Linked DNA regions of Homo sapiens: regions 1 and 2 are each linked to region 3. The links are contacts of gene promoters, found by promoter capture Hi-C in blood cells and fetal thymus (Javierre and others, 2016). All regions are on one chromosome and are shown on one strand. The core of a region is centred on a gene start or on the middle of the fragment in contact, and the rest is flanking DNA. Distances in the headings are between cores, read along the strand shown. Region 1 overlaps EBAG9 (estrogen receptor binding site associated antigen 9). Region 2 overlaps PKHD1L1 (PKHD1 like 1). Region 3 holds the start of TMEM70 (transmembrane protein 70).

Region 1 (3,078 bases), core at 280-2,779, about 36 Mb before region 3:
CGAGTTGATGGGTGCAGCACACCAACATGGCACATGTATACATATGTAACTAACCTGCATGTTGTGCACATGTACCCTAAAACTTAAAGTATTAAAAAAAAAAAAAGAAATAGGCTTTCTAATAAATGTGAATTGTATCACCTAATTTTAACTATAGGAATCTAAAAAGTAGTTTAATCTCCAAAAGCATAAATCTTAACATACTTTCTGAGTTTTCCTAATAGTTGGTGTCATGTCCTTAAAATAGTCAGGTTCCAGTTGTTCCAAAGAATTTTGTTGTGTTGCCACATTCCCATTCCCTCCTTCGATCTTTACACTGGTGGGTGCATCTTCATCCCAGGAAGTCCACTCTTCAACATCTGTCTAAATTTAATTGATCAACATTATCAGCCACAAAGGGGCAACTTAATGAACACATCATTGATGATTTATTAGAAAAATGGGCTTTCTAAAACACTGGTTTTCAAACTTTTTTAACCCACGGGAAAACATACATTTCATATCACAGATCAAAACTTGATCAAAAGTTCAAAAAATACAAGACATTCTGATATATTCTGTTCTATTTTATTCTATTATGTCCATCAAAAAACAAAAAACAAAGTAAAACGAAAGCAAATGCTCTGAAAACTGAACTGACATTAAAACTACAACTCACAGAAGGGCTGGACATTTTCACCCAAGCCTATCCAGATTGATCATCTGATAAAAAATACCAAGCTTCTCCACAGGATTTAAATAAGATGAAGTCTCAAAACATAGTATTCAAAATGTTCATGAAACAACCCAGAATTATTCAGCATATAAAAACAATACATCTAAATTTGCAAGGCAAGTTAATCAACAGATACCAACACCAAAATGATATGTTGGAATTCTCTAAGGCTTTAAAATAGCTATTATAAAAATGCTCCAACAAACAATAGCAAACACTTGAAACCAATGAAAACACAATAGAAAATGTCAACAAAGAAACAGAAGATAAAATGTAGAACCAAATAGAATTTTCAGACCAGATAAATTTAACAACACAACAAAAATTAATTTCTATTAATGATCTGCAATCCAGTTTTTAAAATATTGTTCTAGGACACTTATTCAATCTTTCAAAACAAAACAAAACAAAAGAACACACAAAAAAAACCTACCTGCTTAGGAACTGATGAATAATCAACTGTAGTTGGCAAAGTTATTTGGTCTCCACTTAATTTCCGTCCTCTGCCAGATCTGAAACAAAAATGAAATAATTTATTTCAAGAACCACCAAAACAAGCAAAGTAAAAGCACTATTATGTATGGTAATTGAAGGCTTATAAAACAAGATCTTTCTCAATTTTATGATTATTGATTTTAGTAACAGTTACTCACTAATTTATGGTAAAAAAAAGTCATAAATCAGACATCCTGTGAATGTTTTTTAAATCTTGGACAGAACAACATAACTGCTTTTTGGCTTAGGACTCAGAATTATAAACAAACTCAAGAGGAATATAAAGTCAAAAATAAAAATGCAAGACGGTTTCAGAGCATGCTCCTTGGAGTGCTGTGGGTTCTGTGGGTGAAGTTCTGGGCCACCTTTGCTGTTTTAAACAGGGTGGCTTGGCTTTTATGTTTTACACATGGGGTTTCTTGATAAGATTAACTATTAAGAAGTTTAAAAATCACTAGTTTGAACCAAATGGTAACTTACTTTTAAGGATTAGTAGGAAAAGTACCACATTCAACAGGACGTACTATAACTCAGTTGTTAAGAACATGGGCTGTGGAATCTGTGTAAACCACAGTTTTCAATGTTACTTCTATTATGTCTAGTTAGAATTACCTACTTTTCAGCCTCAACAGCCTCATCTATAAAATGCAGGTATTCAAACCCACTTTTGCAGGGTTGTTTGGATTTAATTAAGTGACATATTTAAAAACCCTAGACAGTGTGTGCCTGCTACATAGCACAACATACAAAAAATGGCAGGTAATAGAGATAATTAGTCATTTACTTCACTTCAAATAATCTATAAAAAAAAAAAGCATCAACTAAGAACTAAGAACGATAAAGTCAGCTATTTTTATTACAGATTCAAAGCTATATTTGTTTAAAGGGTGAATAGAAAAGTAATATAGTCCTTTATGAAATTTATGATACAAGCGTGTTTTTCCTTTCCATAGAGATGGGGTCCTGCTGTGTTGCCCAGGCTGGTCTTGAACTCCTGGCCTCAAGCTATCCTACCCCCTCGGCCTCCCAAAGCATTGGGATTACAGGCATGAGCTACCATGCCTAGCCAAGTCTGGTATTTTAAAATACATGGTCTAAGGTTCCTTCAGACACCAAAGAGAAGCTTATCCTAACATATGGTCAGTTTTCTTTAAAACTGAACATACAATCAATTCTAAATATGTATACATTTACAACAGAAATTTATAGTGCCAATAGGAATGTCCTTAATATTTTTACATCAAGAAAATTTCTTATCCTAGAAGTAATCTATATTTAATGAAAATTTTAAAAAATAGAAGTATAAGAAGAAAACATCTACATTTCATCACCACTGTTAACACAATGCTTCTTTTAACTTCCTGCCTTCTGGCAATTAATACCCATTTTTAATGTTGCTTTACCTGGTGAATTTCTGGCCATTCTCTTCCTCATTCTCTGGTAATTTGAACACTTAGTTTGCTCCTTTTTCTACTTCCCAAATCCTATCCTCTTGGGTGATTTCAAGTCAACCACCTAAATTTTCCATTTCTTTCTTCACTTCTGCCCCAGTGATCATCCAGAGATGATCATTTCACCCACTTGTTCTCTTGCAATACCCTGGATTTTTTTTTTTTTTTTAAATCCCAGACCACTCTACTTTTAGCAATAAGTTCAATTTAGCAGCTATCAAATGGTCATATAGCCAGAGACTGCAGTTCCTATCCTTCCTTGCAGCTAGGGGGCCATATGACTAAGCTCTGGAAAGCAGGCAGTGCAAAAATTGTTGTGTGTAACCTCTAAGTCATGTCTATATATATTAAAAAAAGAGCTGATTGCTGTCCATTTCCTCTTTTACTATACCCTCCTCTTAGTATGTAAGTAACTTT
Region 2 (2,936 bases), core at 297-2,796, about 36 Mb before region 3:
TTGTTCTCAACAAGCCTTTTTCTTTATATGCCTTTAATTTTTTTTTTTATTACAGCTGCCTTTGTTCTCCCACCCTGACCCAGCAACCACCTACCCACTTAACTTTGTGATAATCTACCACAACCGTCCTCTTTCCAATTTGCACCACGTTTTTTATTAATAATTTAATTTCCAAGACGGGAAAGATGTGTTTATGGCTCGTGCTCTGGAATGGTTCTGTGTAAAGTTGGGTAAAATTATTTAATCTGTTCACCTCAATTTCCTCATCAGTAAAATGGCCATAATAGTGCCTACTTCATGCAGTAGTAATGCTTGCAAAGCTCTCTTAGCACAGAGCCTGGCACATAGCAAACATTCATAGATAACAGTTGTTGCTGCAGCTACTACTACTACTGCATTACTATTGCATTACTACAGTATCATTTCCGGTAATTGCATTTCCCAAAGGCCATGCAACCCCTTTCAGTCCCTTAAACACCTGCTCTAACTTTAATCTCTAGAATTCTAATGCCTAAATTTCAATATAAAATTTCTAAATTTTTTTTGGATTTAAAAAATCGAGTTATCTAGCTGGGCACGGTAACTCATGCCTGTAATCTCAGCACTTTGGGAGGCCGAGGCAGGAGGAACGCTTGAGCCCAGGAATTTAAGACCAGCCCAGGCAACGGGCGAAACTCCGTTTCTACAAATAATTTAAAAATTAGCCAGGTTTGGTGGCGCATGCCTGTAGTCCCAGCTACTCAGAAGGCTGAGGTGGGAAGAATCACCTGAGCCTGGGAGGTCGAGACTACAGTGAGCCATGATTGGGCCCTGCACTCCAGCCTGGGAGACAGAGCAGGACCCTGACTCAAAAAAAAAAAAAAAAAAAATCCAAAATAACCTATATTCGGATATAAACGTGTTTAAATTTTTTTTCTTAAAGAGTTGATTGCTTTAGACAATTTATTATGCCCAAGGATATTTTCTTCTTTTTCCTGATTCTTCAGTTTTCTTTATTAAATTTGCCATTTCCAAATGAAACAAAACGAAATGTATATACTTTTCCAGAAACAGCTAGTTACTGAGTACTTGTTTCCCAACACAATAGCAAAACAGAAAACAAAGCTCGCTAAAGACTGCAAATTTAAAATTTACTTTAGTAATACCTATAAAATAATATTTTAAAATCATCTTTACTTGTTAAATAGTAAGCCCATAATTGGGATCACAAGTCAATAATTTGGGATTGGGTTTAGGGACCACCTCTTGGGAACAGGGAACTTTAAGTCCTGTCCTCTCCCCAAAGCTTGTGTGGGACGGGGGTAGGAAACCACCAGATGTCAAATGGGAGGAACATAAGGGATAGAACCTGGCATATGAATTTCTTTTACTCAATGGAATATAGTAAATTCTGTCTGCTCTGTGTCCAAACCATTTTGCTCACTTTAACGCTTCTGATCAGCCTCTGCCCAATTACCAGCTTGATTTATTCACACTATCAACCTCCAGCCCACCACTTACTCTCCCCTTTCAAAGCCTACATAGGCTTTGTTCTGACTTCTCCAGCTGGGGCTAACTCTGGCCTTGTCACCTGACCTGGCCCAGGAGGTAGGAGCAGACTGCAAACACAGCCCTCTGCTTCCAGATCTTTCCCAACCCAGTTCCCTGGCTTTTCATCAAAGGGTGGGTTTTTTTTCCCTCAAACACAATTTTAGACCTGCTGTTCTGACTTGGACTTTAATGGCTTTTTATTAATGAGCAGCTGTTCACAGTTGAATACAAGATCATAAAGTCACATTCATTTCTTGATCAAGTAAAACAAAGCTTTGCCGCACATAGAGTGACATCTTTGAGCAGATACATTTGAAAGCATAGGATTTTCTGATGAGAATTTTAATGAATTGTTTTATTAATCTTCCTACTGGAGAATTTTACTTGCTTTCAAAATAATAAACATTAATATTCTGGAAAATTATAACTTCTTTTTTAATACTCAAAATCACCATATACTAGTTAGGGTCAATTGCCTAATAGAGAAATCAAACAGTCTGAAGCAGATTTTTTATTTCTTTTCTATTAAATGAAAATTAACTTTCTATGAAGCATTTAAATAAATTTTTCCTCATAATTGTTATTACAATTAGCAGTAACTTTTATTGCTAAATACAGGAAGATTCAAAATTTAGTAACAATTTAGAGTTAACCAGTTTTCTTCAGAAGGGGCCTGGTTAGAAATCAAGAAAAATAATACATATATTTTAGTAGAAATAAATTCAAATGAAAAGATGAGGTGAATTCTCATTTTGTGTTCAGTGGTGAGGTTCAGCCACATCATACTTCTGGCTAATGTCCACATCGTTATTAGATTTATGACAGAGTTCAGCTATATTATGAATTAAGTAGAGTTGATGGGAACAGCATCTGGCAGTCTAAGACCTTTTGTTATTTCTAACAGTAAATGTATTGAAATTCATACAACCAACATAAAACAGTAGTTTGTAAATCTATCTTGTACATGGATTGAGAAAGTAGAAATAAAACAACATGAAACAATGTGAGACTCATTCATTGAGCTACAGCATGATGGACATCGTGACTTTGACCTTGAACAACTTTAAGCCTCAGTTTTCTCATCTGCAAAATTAGGTTAGTAATTCCTGCTTTACGGATTTATTTTGCAAATTAAATATCATACCATATGTGGAAATGTGTTGGAAACACAGCAATAAAATCGGTGAAACCTTTGAAGCAGGCAGATTTGTTATCTTCAAGATCAGTACAATCCCCTTTAGCTCACAACATGGAATAGTGCTTCCAAGAAATAGAGGTGAATTTTATGTCATCAGCAACCAGAAGTAGACATGTCTACTAGCAATATATTAACAAAGGGAAACAGGGAGGGACAGCCAGAAGTCAACCCTCCATACCCCCGCTTCTACCTTCTTTGTTCCCTTCTT
Region 3 (3,111 bases), core at 173-2,672:
TCCAGGCCTTTTACAAATACTGCTAAAATATTTATATGATAGTATTAAAGAGATCAAATCTTTCTCTAAAGACCTTGTAAATACCGTGTATCCCCTGGTCCTCTTATTTCTTGACAAGAAATAAAATTTGGCTGGGCACAGCGGCTCACGCCTGTAATCCCAACCCTTTGACAGGCCGAGGCAGGAGGATGATTTGAGGTCAGGAGTTTAAGACGAGCCTGGCCAACACGGTGAAACCCCGTCTCTACTAAAAATACAAAAAAAAAATCAGCCGGGGTGTGGTGGAGCGCGCCTGTAATCCCAACTACTGGGGAGGCTGAGGCAGGAGAATCGCTTGAACCCGGAAGGCGGAGGTTGCAGTGAGCCAAGATCACGTCACTGCACTCCAACCAGGGTGACAGAGCGAGACTTCACCTCCAAAAAAAAAGAAATAAAATTTACTTGAAATCCTACATCAAATTTCAAGGGAACAGAAGCGTTCCCCATACATCTGAAAATGAGTTTCACAGTGTATACACTTCAAAATGTAAAAGGCATGCCTAATTCCTCAATGCTGAAATGTAATTAGATTCCAATTTCCATTTTAAGCATTTCTTCCAAGTTTTAACCAGGTTTGCCAATCCTGATATTTTACAGAGTAGAATTAGAAGACAATTTATTCAGATCAAAATAAAAGAATTAACATCTGCATCCCCCTTTTCCCAGGGACCAAAGTAATTCTTAAAAGTACAGCCACCTCATAAAAGTAGAACAAGCTCAAAGTCAGGTTAACCTGGCTCTTTCGGTTCTATTTCCAGGTGCTGCATCCAATTTTTTGCAAATTAACACTTCTAAGCTTCTACTCAAGGGCAGAAAAGGAACTACATATAGTTGTCACCACAAACCCTCTGGATTTGGAACTACCATAAAAGTAAGCACTTTCCAGCCGTTCTCCTGGACTCGCGGAGGCTGAGGACCCCGGGGCCCTCGGCCTGCTACTTCTGCAAGCCCCGCAGAGGGGGCTCCTCCCGCGCTCCAGCCACGGACACCTGGGAGAGGTCGCGAAGAGCCGCTGGGGCTCCCCAGGCCCGACACGACGCCCGCCCTCCCCGCCTCACTTGGGACACCAGACCTCGGACGCCCTACCTGCGCTCGACCCGGACGCCGGAGAAGGCGCGCGGCTCCCGAAGGCCCCGTACTCCAGCCGGCTACCGGCCCCGAAGGCCCGCTGCTGGAGGACGCCCGGGAGACAGAGGCCCGGGGACCTCGGAGCGCGGCGGCCGCACACAATGCAGTCCTCCTTCCGCAGAGAGGCAGTTCGACCGCCCACGGGCTGCCCAACGCCAGAAACAGCATCACGCGGGTGACGAGCGGCTGCGGACGCCCCAGCTGCACGAGTCCACGACTGCGAGACACGGCTTCCCACCCGACTGCCGCACAAGTGGCGCATGCCCAGCCCGGGACGCCTGACTGGCAGCTGGGCTGCCTGCGCGTGCGCAGAATCTGCCGCCCGCCTGCCGCCCGCCTGCCGCCCGCCTGCCGCCCGCCTGCCGCCCGCCTGCCGCCCGCCTGCCGCCCGCCTGCCGCCTTCCCGGCCGCGCGCGTTATCCGCCAGCTGAGCTGGGAGCCCGCCGCTCTGTCCTTGGCTCAGCGGCTCCTCCTTCCTAGAATTTTACCTTCTTTATAACAGTGTGGAGGGGCAGAGGGCTGTACGAGAATGACAATGCCCAGAAGCCAGGGTTAAATATTTTTTTTTCTCGTGGACGACATCACTAAAAACTGTTTCCTTTGCGGAAAATGATTCTAGCCTGTTGGCACAGAAGAAAGAATATACGATTTGAACAAAAATGAGTGATAACTTAATTGAATCATCGGGTTGGAGGAAAATAAATGGAATTGTTCATGTAATATTGATAGGTGTTACCAGATTTGTCTTCGGAAATCATTCACATCCATATACACATTGATTCATTACTTGTTAAAGAGGTACTGAATCTATTGCCAGGACTGAGCTAGGAGCAGAGGATACAAAATACTAGATTAAACTGGGAATCCACAGTGCTTAAACAGTGGAGGAAAATACCTGAAAATTGGCTAGAATATAATGTAATACAATTGAGACACCGCAATATACAAAATGTGGCTGGCCGTGGTGGCTTACACCTGTAATCCCAGCGCTTTGGGAGGTTTAGGCAGGAAGATCTCTTGAGGCCAGGAGTTTGAGACCAGCCTGAGCAATACAGGGAGACCCCGTCTCTACAAAAAAAAAAAAAAAAAAAAAACCTAAAACAAAAATAAGCCACACATGGTAAGTGTGTGCCTGTGGTCCCAGCTACCCAGGAGGCTGACATGGTAGGATTGCTTGAGCCCAAAGTCGAGGCTTCAGTGAGCCAAGACCACACTACTGCACTCCAGCCTGGACCACAAAGTGACACCGTGTCTCAAAAAAAAGAACAAACAAATGCCACAGAAGTACAAAGAAGAACATGATTAATTTTGCCTCAGAATGTCTTCAGACTGGCTTCACATTTAGCTCAGTCTTGAAGGATGAGCATCTTAGTAATAGAAACACACTTTTGTTTACCACTGCAGAACTATACATGTTTTTGATTTGACATGTTATTTGCACCGGAGAGGAACAAATTCATAGTCTAAAATAATGTGTGGCCAGGGGCGGGAGCTCACGCCTGCAATTCCAATACTACGTGGAGGCCCAGGTGAGAGGATCACTTGATTCCAGGAGTTTGAGACCAGCCTGGGCAACAAAGTGAGACCCTGTCTCTACAAAAAATTTTTAAATTAGCTGGGCATGGTGGCACCTGCCTGTAGTCCCAGCTACTTGGGAGGCTGAGGTGGAAGGATCACTTGAGCCCAAGAGGTTGAGGCTGCAGTGAGCCCTGATTGCACCACTGCACTGAGTGACACAGCTAGACCCTGTCTCAAAAATAAAAATAAAAATAAATCAATAGAATATGATCATGTTGGCAACTCCAAATACTGTCTATTGGGGGGAGTATTCAGAAGGAGATAATGATAATACCTCTATATGGATAACTTTATTTTATAAAAAGTTAGCTTCTACTTACATTTTGTTTATTTTTATTTTAATATTTGTTTTAATAGTAGAGATGG

Evidence for each region. The method cuts DNA at HindIII sites, captures the fragments that hold promoters and counts their contacts. A CHiCAGO score of 5 or more calls a contact.
Region 1: a contact is called between a fragment that was not itself captured here and the fragment with the promoter of TMEM70 in region 3, in 1 of 17 cell types (total CD4 T cells). The highest score is 5.7, in total CD4 T cells.
Region 2: a fragment that was not itself captured here is called in contact with the fragment with the promoter of TMEM70 in region 3 in 1 of 17 cell types (total CD4 T cells); the score reaches 9.4 in total CD4 T cells.

What each region holds. Positions count from the first base shown.
Region 1 is chr8:109,552,014-109,555,091 of GRCh38, reverse strand. EBAG9 (estrogen receptor binding site associated antigen 9) reads right to left here. Exons shown (of 7, transcript NM_004215.5): 3 at 1,149-1,227; 4 at 205-363. Among named protein-coding and RNA genes, the nearest start is that of EBAG9, 13 kb to the right of the region's middle. The HindIII fragment of the contact is 1,613 bases long and covers 723-2,335 here.
Region 2 is chr8:109,535,981-109,538,916 of GRCh38, reverse strand. It overlaps PKHD1L1 (PKHD1 like 1), which reads right to left. Exons shown (of 78, transcript NM_177531.6): 78 at 1,710-2,936. Among named protein-coding and RNA genes, the nearest start is that of EBAG9UORF, 2.3 kb to the left of the region's middle. The HindIII fragment of the contact is 518 bases long and covers 1,288-1,805 here.
Region 3 is chr8:73,974,506-73,977,616 of GRCh38, reverse strand. TMEM70 (transmembrane protein 70) reads right to left here and starts at 1,422. Exons shown (of 3, transcript NM_017866.6): 1 at 1,126-1,422. The coding sequence starts at 1,335. RefSeq lists silencers at 1,074-1,123, 1,289-1,504, 1,554-1,633. The HindIII fragment of the contact is 7,182 bases long and covers 838-3,111 here.